2 separate regions of the Homo sapiens genome follow, and region 2 is linked to region 1. The links are contacts of gene promoters, found by promoter capture Hi-C in blood cells and fetal thymus (Javierre and others, 2016). All regions are on one chromosome and are shown on one strand. Each heading gives the region's core, a stretch centred on a gene start or on the middle of the fragment in contact. The rest is flanking DNA. Distances are from core to core; before and after follow the strand shown.

Region 1 (5,283 bases), core at 1,484-3,983:
TGATAATCCCACCTCAAAACCTCTAGCTGGGCTGGGCGTGGTGGCTCATGCCTGTAATCCCAACACTTTGGGAGGCCGAGGTGGGTGGATCACCTGAAGTGAGGAGTTCGAGACCAGCCTGGTCAACATGAAACCCCATCTCTATTAAAAATACAAAAATTAGCTGGGCATGGTAGCAGGCACATGTAATCCCAGCTACTTGGGAGGCTGAAGCAGGAGAATTGCTTGAATCCGGGAGGCGGAGGTTGCAGTGAGCCAAGATCGCGCCATTGCACTCCAGCCTGGGCGACAGAGCAAGACTCCGTCTCAAAACAAAAACAAACAAAACAAAACAAAAAAAAACTAAAAAAAAAACCTCTAGCTGCCCACTCACCAGAAACTACTGATAAGGCTACAGGTAAGGATGAGTAAATCAAATCAATGATCATTTAAAAGTGTTTATTTTCTAAATGGGAGTAACACAGAGGGAACTTTTGGCACCTTCTTTCCAGTCCATCACCCCCATCATGTCCTCCCAAACACAAAGCAATGGCAGGAGAAACCACAGGACAGTCACAAAGTCAGTCACAGAGAGATCTGTACAATCCCGGATAGCTGGAATTCAAGAGTCTGTCCCAGCTATCTTGTCCTGGAGTGGGGTTACAGCTCAGGGGCATAGGGCTCCTCAGTAGGTGAAGGTACCCGCAGCTCAGCATCATGCCTTACCACGGTGAAGAGTCCCACCACTGCCAGCAGAGCCATCACCATGACAGCAGAGCAAATGCTGAACATATTCCGAGTGCCTGTTTTTCGATCACTGTCATGGAGGACAAGGAGCCCTAGGCAAGCCAGTGAGTGCAGAGGTACCCGGAACCAGTTGAGTACACCAGCCTGCTCTGTCTCAGGGATCACCTTTCTCCGTAGGAAGCTCATGCTGGGAAAGTATAATCCACAAGCCAACTCAATAAGTAGAAAGGCTATGAAGGACTCCACCGGACTCTCCTGGCCTGGGCTGGTAGAGAAAGTCAACATGAAGAGAGAGAAGACGACGATGAGCACAGCAAGGGACAGCAGGTGCATGGGCTGAAGGTGGTACCTCTTGGAGGTGGCGATACGGTACAGGGAAGAGCCAAGCAGGCTGGCTGCCATGAAGCTGGAGAAGATAATGCCCAGAGGGGCCCCGTGTGGGTCCAGCACAGGTGTCCAGAGGAAGACAAAGATGAAGATGACACTCTCAAATAGAGCTTGTATGGTGCCCAACAGCAGCACGCGGCGGTCCGACAGGAGGCAGCGCAGGCCTCCAGCACAGGTCCTTGAGAAGGCACGCTGCCGGTCATAGTTCTCCCCCCAGTTTCGAAGGGCCAAGGCCCCTGCCAGAGCCAGGAGAGGGATGGCAGCCACAAAGGGCGCTACAGGCCCCAGCCCTATCCAGCTGGCTACAGCCTCAGCTGCCACACCTGCCACTACAGCCAGCACATGGTTCCAGAAGGCAGCTCGAGCAAAGGTAGCTGGGATCCACTCAGCAGGGAAGTCATGCCGTTCCACGTGCTCATGGATATACCAGGCCTCGAAGGCTGAGAAGAGCAGGGCTGTGGACAGCCCACCAAGTGCTCGCCCCACTAGCAGCACAAAGTAGTCTTGAGAGAGTTTGGTTAAGCAGCATAGTGAGTAAGTCAGGGAGAAGAGGACACAAGAATTCTTGCGACCCAGCCAATCCACAAGGGAGGAGGCCACTAGGCCAAAGAGGACTGTAGAGGCAAGGCCACAGACATAGAGGATGGCAATTTGACCTTCCAGGAAGTAGTAATGCTGGTAGAGTTTATAGAGGTAGGGGGCCTGAAGCCAATCAGCTGCCAGGGCCAGGAAGTAGACCTGATAGAAGTCCAGTTGAAACCGAAGGAAGGAGGGATTGCTGCAGGCCCTTCCAGGGGGTTTAGCCCGGCATCTTGACAGTTCCAGCCCCAGGCAGGAGGCCAGGAGGCCTACAAAAGCAAGGTAGGCAGTCACCAGCATGGTGGGCCCCCGGACGACCTGGGAAGAGAGGTGGGAGTCAGAGCCATATCCATCCTTCGGGCAGCACGGTCAAGGGGCTGTCTTAAGCAGATGGCAGCTCCACCCAACCCCGCTGCCAACTCCACTCCCCAAGATCTCAGACCGGAGGGACCAGTTGGGTGGGTGGGAGGAGTGGCCACGCCAAAGCTGTCTCCTAGGACACTGTGGGGCAGGGAGGGGTAAGAAGACAGGGGAGAGGACTGGGCACTCAACCCATCCTTGCCTGTGAAGAGGGAGTCCCTTTCAATAATCCCGCTCCCGCAAATTCTACTGCCCTTTCCCACAGCAGCTCCCGTACACTTCCTTCTATTACCTCCCGTCCTCGCTGCGGAGCCTCTTTTTGCCCTCAGTGTCTCATCCTCTGTCCCGGGCATCCCTCCCACCCGCGCAGGCCTCTCGAGTTGCTTCAGGGTCATGCGTGTGCATCTCAGAGGCCCACTCCTCCAGGTCACTGGCACCCCACTGCGCCCCCTAGCCCCTGCCCAGCCCTGCCACATCCACTTGCACCTCGCCCAGACTCCGCCTCACCTGCTGCCCCGGTCTGCGGGGACGCCCCGGACACGTCCGGCTCCAGGCCGCCAGGCCACCCTCCCCGCTGTGGCTCCGGCTCCGGCTCGGGTTCCAGCAGCGCTCCCGCCCCTCACAGCCTGCTTCCGGGAGCCGGGCAGGCCTCTGGCCGCCGCCATGATGGCTTCATCACGTGACGGGGGCGCGGCGCCAAAACCCCGCCCCGCCCCGCCCGCCCGCCCTCCTTCCCTTACCCGGGCGCGGAACTCCTGACGCCTGGGGTGGGTCGGGAAGGGGCGACCATAGGAGGCTGCGGTTGCTTCTCCTGGCCTGGCCTCGCTCGCTGCCATCCCGTGACACCTGCTCCTCTGGCTCTTGGATGCCTGAGGGGCCACCCTGAAATAAGTGCCAATTTTCTTTTCTTCCGTGCAGTGCTCGGGAAAGATGCCCGCAGTCCGGTAGAGCCAAGGGTTGGAGCTTCCTAAGGAACAGCACCGCTGCCCGAAGCCGAGAAGGTCTCCTTGGTTTGCCTCCTCTCCCACTGCAGTGACCTCCATGCAAGAGAAGCCAGTATGGTCCAGACACCTGAGGGAGGCGGTGTGGTGTAAAGAACTTGGAGTCGGGCTGCAGACAGACTAAGGCGCAGTCCTGCCCCTGTCACTTACCAGCTGTGTGGCCTTGGGCAAGCCGCATAACTTCCCAGTGTCCCAGTTTCTTTGAAGTCACAGGATAGCAATGCCCAAATAAAGAAGGCTAAAGTTCAGTGGCAGCATGGGGTTAAGAACTTCAGCCTTGGAGCTTAATTCCCTACCTTCTGCCACTTACAAGCTGTTTTACCTTGGAAAAACTATTTAACCTCTCTACAGCTTCCGTATCATCTCCTCAAGAGCCTCCAATGACTTCCCATCTCACTAAGGGTAAAAGCCGAAGTATTTATAATGGCCTACAAGACCCTCTGTCCTCTGACCCTCTGCCACTCCTCTGACTTCATCCCCTGCTCCTCTCCCTCCCATCTATGTTGGCTACCACCAGGGCTTTTGCACACTGTTCCCTGTACAGTTCTTCTCCAAGATATCCACGTGGTTCCCCCCCCCACCTCCTCCAGTTCTCTGTTCAAATGTCACCTGATCTTGGCTGGGCCTGGTGGCTCATTCCTGTAATCCCAGCAGTTTAGGAGGCTGAGGCAGGCCGATCAGTTGAGGTCAGGAGTTCAAGATCAGCCTGGCCAACATGGTGAAACCCCGTCGCTAGTAAAAAAATATAAAAATTAGCCAGGCATGGTGGTGGGCACCTGTAATCCCACCTACTCGGGAGGCTGAGGCAGGAGAATCGCTTGAACCAGGGAGGCAGAGGTTGCAGTGAGCCAAGATCACGCCACTGCACTCCAGTCTGGGTGACAGAGCGAGACTCTGTCTCACAAAAAAATAAAAAATAAAATAAAATTTTAAAAAATGTCACCTGATCAGAGGGGCCTTCCATGGCCCTCCTGTTTAAAATAGCAACACCACCACCTCCAGCACAGTAATCTACCTACTTTCCTTCCAATTTTCTATTCTCTCTGCTGCTTTTACTCTGCAGTACACTATGTATTTTCCTTGTTTATTTATTTACTATCTTGGCCAGGTGTGGTGGCTCACACCTGTAATCTCAACACTTTGAGAGGCCAAGGTGGGTGAATCACTTGAGGCCAGGAATTTAAGACCAGTCTGGCCAACATGTCGAAACCCCATGCCTACTAATAATACAAAAAATTGCTGGGCGCGGTGGCTCACACCTGTAATCCCAGCACTTTGGGAGGCCGAGGCGGGCGTATCATGAGGTCAGGAGTTCAAGACTAGCCTGGCCAATATGGCGAAACCCCGTCTCTACTAAAATTACAAAAAAATTTGCTGGGCATGGTGGTGTGCACCTGTAATCCCAGCTACTTTGGAGGCTGAGGCAGGAGAATTGCTTCAACCTGGGAGGCAGAGGTTGCGGTAAGCCGAGATTGCACCACTGCACTCCAGCCTGGGCAACAGAGCAAGACTCCGTCTCAAAACAAATAAACAAAAAAATTAGCTGGGCCTGGTGGTGCGCGCTTGTAATCCCACCTACTCAGGAGGCTGAGGTACGAGAATTGCTTGAACCTGGGAAGCGGAGGCTGCAGTGAGCCAAGATTACACCACTGCACTCCAGCCTAGGGGACAGAGCAAGACTTCGTCTCTAAGTAAATAAGTAAATATTTACTATCTCTTTCCCTACAGATTTTTATCTGTTTTGTTCACCTGTATTCCCTATACTTAAAGCAGTCATTGATAAGTATTAATCATAAATATTCCATAAATAGTCTATGAATAAATGAATAAGTTATGTAAATTACTATCAAAAGTACTGGCCCATATTAACATAATAACACTTATCAGTTATTATGTACCTAAGGAGTTTTAAGAAGGTTTAGTCCAACTGCTGTAGGTGAATTATCTCATCTGACTGACAACAATCCATACAGTAGGTACTAACCAGAGTTGGAAAGGTTAGGTAACATGTTTAGAGTTACATAGTAAAAGGCAGTTAGAAGCAGGACCCAATCTTTCCAGTTCCAAGCTCACATAGTTTCTGCAATTATACTAGTTCACCTACTTGCGCAGCAGATCAGTCTTTTTTTTTTTTTATTTGAGACGGAGTTTCACTCTTGTTGCCCAGGCTGGAGTGCAATGGCGTGATCTCAGCTCACTGCAACCTCCGGCTCCCGGGTTCAAGCGATTC
Region 2 (5,283 bases), core at 2,001-4,500, 37 kb after region 1:
ATGCCTGCTTTGGTGCCTTATGTGTTGTTAACCTGTGAGTGTGTGTGTCTCCAAGGAGGTGTGTGCTAGATTGTGAGTCCAGGCTGCTCAGCTCTGAGCCTCGCAGCTGGGAGCGTTTACAGCCGGTTATAAAGAGTTTGTTTGAAGCTCCGCGCAGCCTGGTCAGGAATTTCCTCAATTTCAGCAATTTGGGCTTTAAAAGGAGAAAACCCCAGAGCCCACCCCCATCCTCCCCAGCAGGGGCCCCTGCCTAACCCAGGAGCTGCATCCCAATGGTGGGGTCTAAGCCCGAGTCTGGGGAGGGGATCTGATTGGAGTAGACCCAGTTAGCTTTCTGGGGCCTTGACCTCACAGATTGACCTCGGAGCCACTAGGCTGCACTTTAGGGTTCAGGGGGTGGGGATGTGACAGTATCACTTAGACAGGAAAAGTTGCCCCCGGGCCTGTCTCCCTAAGGCCCCCAGTCTTATAATTGGCTGGCACTGCCCCATGCCAGTCTGACCGCACCCAGGCCCTTGCGCAAGAGAGGAAATGAGGCAGCGCTCTGCGGGCAGGGAGGGCGTCAGTGCCAGAGTGAGCACCACCCCACGCACAGGCCTTGGGCAGAACACGTGCCCTTGGAGGACACAGTGGTGGGTCTGAGGAGTGAGGAGAGGTTGGGAAAGGCGTTCCAGCCCTCCTCACATCTCTCAGCACCAGCCCCTCCTGGAGCCCCCATCCCTAGTCTTGAATAGACTCCAGGCACCCTTCTTTCCCCCCTCTCCTCTCTCCTTTTTCTTTGGGTAATCTCACTCTGGCAGGATTCTTATGCTAATTGATTGTATGTGTGTTGGGGGTGGGTAGGGCTTCCCTCCTGTGGGGTGGGTGGAGCTAGCGTGGAACCCTGGCATCCTGGGCATTCCTTCCGCCCTTCTGGCTGCGTTGGGGCGGGCTTCTGACCAGGTGGGCTGCAGAGGGTTAGAAGGGAGAAGGTGTTCATGAGGTGGGTGCGTGGGACACACCTTAGGGAGGGTCTTAGGAATTTTTTTGCATTAACTTGGGCCCTCCAGGTTTGGGCAACAGGTCCTACAGGTTGAATAATTTACAAATTTTCCGAGCCTCTGAAGACCAACCACACGCGCGCGCGCGCGCGCGCGCACACACACACACACACACACTTACCCAGCAGCCTTTTGAACAGAGCAGAGCATGTCCTCCCCATACTGTGGGGCTGAGACCCCTTTTGAGCTGCAATTGGGTATTTTCAGAGTGAAGACATAAGCTCAGAGAGGGTCCAGAAACAGGTTCCCTCCCCCATCAGTCCTGTTTACCTACTGTCACCTGACTTCTCCAGTTTGCTACACCTCCAACGGCTTCCAGACCTGAGAAACTGAGCAAACACCTCAGCCTCTGCTTCCCCAGCTTCTCTGACTCACAGCCACTTGGATCTGCTGGTGGTGTGGCACTGAGCTGGTCACTTCCCCTCTCGTGGCCTCAGTTTCTTCAGGCGTGAACCAAGGCTGTGGTGCATCCTCTCACTCACTCCCCTGAGACCTTTGCCCCATTTGCTCCACTGTCTCTGATGGTTATTCAGGGGTAGTGTGAGAGAGATAAGCCTGAGGAGTTATCCCCCCTGTACTACTGGAAAGGAAATGAGGTCCTGGTTTACCTGCTAAGCATCCCAGCAGGTCATTTGGCCAGTAGCAGCTACAGGAAGCCTGTCATTGCCTACCTGCCCCCAGAGTTATTGCCCCACAGGGAGGACAGTGGGAAGTAGACTACCTGACAAAGATATACCAAAGAGACAGAGAGTGACTAGAGAGCTCAGAGCTGCAGGGCTTTAACTCTTCTACCCACCTCCTGGATAGTTAGGGAAACAGGCCCAGAGAAGTCAATTTCCGGAATGGCCTTGGTCTGGAATTTGGAGGATTAAACATGTCATATAGGATGAGGGCTGGCATTCTTGTGAACAAGTTGGTTAGACTGTGGAGGGTAGAGGGTGAACTAGGGTCACAACAAGCTGTGGTAATAGTGGTCATTAAGAGGATTCTGACAGTGCTTACTGCTGGAACTAGTGCACTGTGGTAGTGATGGCTGTCACCAGTGGGCCAAGGAACAAATGCACATGGGGTGTGTGTGATGAGGAAGCCTGGAGGTCTGTGGGGTCCTTCTCCCCTGACCCTCACATCACTGCTTCCCTCCCAGCGGTGGAGACACAGAGCACCAGCTCAGAGGAGATGGTGCCCAGCTCGCCCTCGCCCCCTCCGCCTCCTCGGGTCTACAAGCCATGCTTCGTGTGCAATGACAAGTCCTCTGGCTACCACTATGGGGTCAGCTCTTGTGAAGGCTGCAAGGTGTGTACGTGGTGGGAGTGGGCAGACGGGGGATCCAGTTACCCTAGTAAGATGAGAGACCAGGCACACAGATGCTGTGTCTGAGCAGCACTGCTTTGCACATAGGTGGTTAATAGATTAGGTCAGGCTTGGGGCAACCTGCAAGGCCAGTGAGAGGCTGGTACTCCCAGCATTGTGCTTCAGAGGCCCTCTCTCTTTCCCTCAACTCCAGGGCTTCTTTCGCCGAAGCATCCAGAAGAACATGGTGTACACGTGTCACCGCGACAAAAACTGTATCATCAACAAGGTGACCAGGAATCGCTGCCAGTACTGCCGGCTACAGAAGTGCTTCGAAGTGGGCATGTCCAAGGAAGGTAGGCTGCCATCCTTGGCTTGGGCAGGAGCACTTCGGTCCTACCCTATGGCTGTGGCCCTCTTTCCTCTGGCCACTCCCACTTCCCTGACCTCTGAGACTTGGCCTGCCCTGGGGTGCTGCCTTCTCCCAGGCCAGTCTTATTTGATTAGCTCCATTCAACCAGGAGGCCCCACCATTTCCCATTCTCCCTCTCAGGGAGCTTGACTCTTCCTCTGAATGGGTGAATAAGTAGGGTCTCACATTCCCCCTGTTTCATGGGGGAAATGAAGCCAGTGGGCTTGCCAGTCCCTTTCCCTCCCCTGGACTGAGCCAGAGATGGATATGGGGTGGCTCCTCCTCTCCACCCCCCCCTCGCCCCCATTGTGCTGCCAAGGCTATAAGTGGATATCCTGCCGCCTGCATATCCTGCCCCCCCTCCCCCAGCTCCTGCAGGGTGACAGGAAGGACAGGATGGAGCCGAATGGCCTGGGGAAGGAGCAGGGGCTGCAGGCCCTGGGTGGGGCTGGGGAGAACCAGCCTGGGAATAGGAGCTATTATAGGTGATAGGGAAACTGAGGCAGTAATTACAGTGCCAGAGAATAGATATTCATGATAAGGACTGAGCATATTAAATTAGGGTGAGAGAGGACACCCAAAGGGAGGCTCTGAGGGTCCTGACCCTCTCCTTGCGCCTCCACCCACAAGCTGTGCGAAATGACCGGAACAAGAAGAAGAAAGAGGTGAAGGAAGAAGGGTCACCTGACAGCTATGAGCTGAGCCCTCAGTTAGAAGAGCTCATCACCAAGGTCAGCAAAGCCCATCAGGAGACTTTCCCCTCGCTCTGCCAGCTGGGCAAGTATACCACGGTGAGGAATGGGCAGAGCCCAGTGAGGGCAGGGCACTCTTCACTTTGGGGAATGGGGCTGGGTTGTGTTGGAGGCTATCATCGACTGGTGCTGAGGACAAGGAGGGCATCAGAATGCAGAGGAGAGAGCTTGGGATATTGGTAGAGAGAAGACAGCCCCCAGAGGTGGGCCTTAGCTTGCCTTCCAACCTTCTACCCCTCCCCTCTGCAGAACTCCAGTGCAGACCACCGCGTGCAGCTGGATCTGGGGCTGTGGGACAAGTTCAGTGAGCTGGCTACCAAGTGCATCATCAAGATCGTGGAGTTTGCCAAGCGGTTGCCTGGCTTTACAGGGCTCAGCATTGCTGACCAGATCACTCTGCTCAAAGCTGCCTGCCTAGATATCCTGGTAAGTTAGGCCCTGTGGGTCCTGCCACAGCCCGACCCACATATGGGACCCTCAACAATTCCTTGATCCATGCAAAGATTTCCTTACCCTGCACCCCCTGCCACACATGTGGGACTCCTCAGCTCTCTTTTCGTCTTAGCCTCTGCCCCTATGACCTGATCCTAGACTTTTGGATGCCCTGTCTCCTCCTGACTTCCCGGGACTACCCCTGCCAAGCCTCAGATCCTCCACCTCTGCCTTCTCCATGCCTGCTTCAGGTTGCACTCACTGGGGACCTAACCTCCTCACTTTCCACTCATTCCCTCTTTTCCCCATCCCCCAGAAACAGCACTAACCCTCCTCCACCCCCCACCTCCAGATGCTGCGTATCTGCACAAGGTACACCCCAGAGCAGGACACCATGACCTTCTCCGACGGGCTGACCCTGAACCGGACCCAGATGCACAATGCCGGCTTCGGGCCCCTCACAGACCTTGTCTTTGCCTTTGCTGGGCAGCTCCTGCCCCTGGAGATGGATGACACCGAGACAGGGCTGCTCAGCGCCATCTGCCTCATCTGCGGAGGTGCGGGGGCGCCCCCTGGCGTCTGCTCAGTGCTCAGTCTCCTTTCCCACCACTCCATGCGGAATCTGTCTGGGAGGGGGCGTGGAGGACCCAGTGGTCTCTTCTGCTGGTAATTCTTGCACCTGGCCCCATCCAGAGAGTTCTGAAACCCTGTACAGGCTTCCCAAAACGCCGGTTGGTGATCAGCCATCTGTCACTGTGTCTTCCCCATCTCTTCCTTCCCCTCTCACTCCAGTATACTTGTCCCCATAGACCGCATGGACCTGGAGGAGCCCGAAAAAGTGGACAAGCTGCAGGAGCCACTGCTGGAAGCCCTGAGGCTGTACGCCCGGCGCCGGCGGCCCAGCCAGCCCTACATGTTCCCAAGGATGCTAATGAAAATCACCGACCTCCGGGGCATCAGCACTAAGGGTGAGTCATGAGTGGGTGTCCCCTCTCTGTCTTCCCAGGGCTGTTGGTCTCCCAGGTCGGACAGGAGGACACACAGAGACAAGAACAGAGTAGTTGAGAACCAGGCAATCTACACTGGAATCCTAGCTCTGCCACATAGTAGTGGGAGACTTTGGGCAAATTGCTTCTAAACCAGTACTGTCCAGTAGAACTTTCTGCAATGATGGGAATACAATAGTCATTAGCCACATGTGGCTATTAAGCATCTGAAATGTGACTACTGCAACTGCAGAATTGAATTTTTAATTCAGCACAATTCCAAGTATGTGTGTGTGTGTGTGTGTGTGTGTGTGTGTGTGTGTGTGTGTATATATATATTTAGAGACAAAGTCTTGGGCAAATTGCTTTAC

Evidence for each region. Contacts are between HindIII fragments. The CHiCAGO score rates a contact against its expected background, and 5 or more counts as called.
Region 2: a fragment that was not itself captured here is called in contact with the fragment with the promoter of SLC61A1 in region 1 in 7 of 17 cell types (activated CD4 T cells, naive CD8 T cells, total CD8 T cells and 4 more); the score reaches 7.3 in activated CD4 T cells.

Annotation. Positions count from the first base shown.
Region 1 is chr12:53,249,545-53,254,827 of GRCh38, reverse strand. It overlaps SLC61A1 (solute carrier family 61 member 1), which reads right to left and starts at 2,733. Exons shown (of 2, transcript NM_032889.5): 1 at 2,560-2,733; 2 at 422-2,010. The coding sequence starts at 1,992. The coding sequence ends at 640. RefSeq lists silencers at 2,411-2,460, 2,471-2,750 and enhancers at 2,216-2,887, 3,021-3,070. The HindIII fragment of the contact is 5,764 bases long and covers 1-5,283 here.
Region 2 is chr12:53,212,696-53,217,978 of GRCh38, reverse strand. RARG (retinoic acid receptor gamma) reads left to right here. Exons shown (of 10, transcript NM_000966.6): 4 at 2,185-2,333; 5 at 2,545-2,686; 6 at 3,373-3,533; 7 at 3,744-3,920; 8 at 4,279-4,483; 9 at 4,736-4,894. Among named protein-coding and RNA genes, the nearest start is that of ITGB7, 8.1 kb to the right of the region's middle. RefSeq lists enhancers at 1,099-1,712, 1,927-2,700. The HindIII fragment of the contact is 8,479 bases long and covers 1-5,283 here.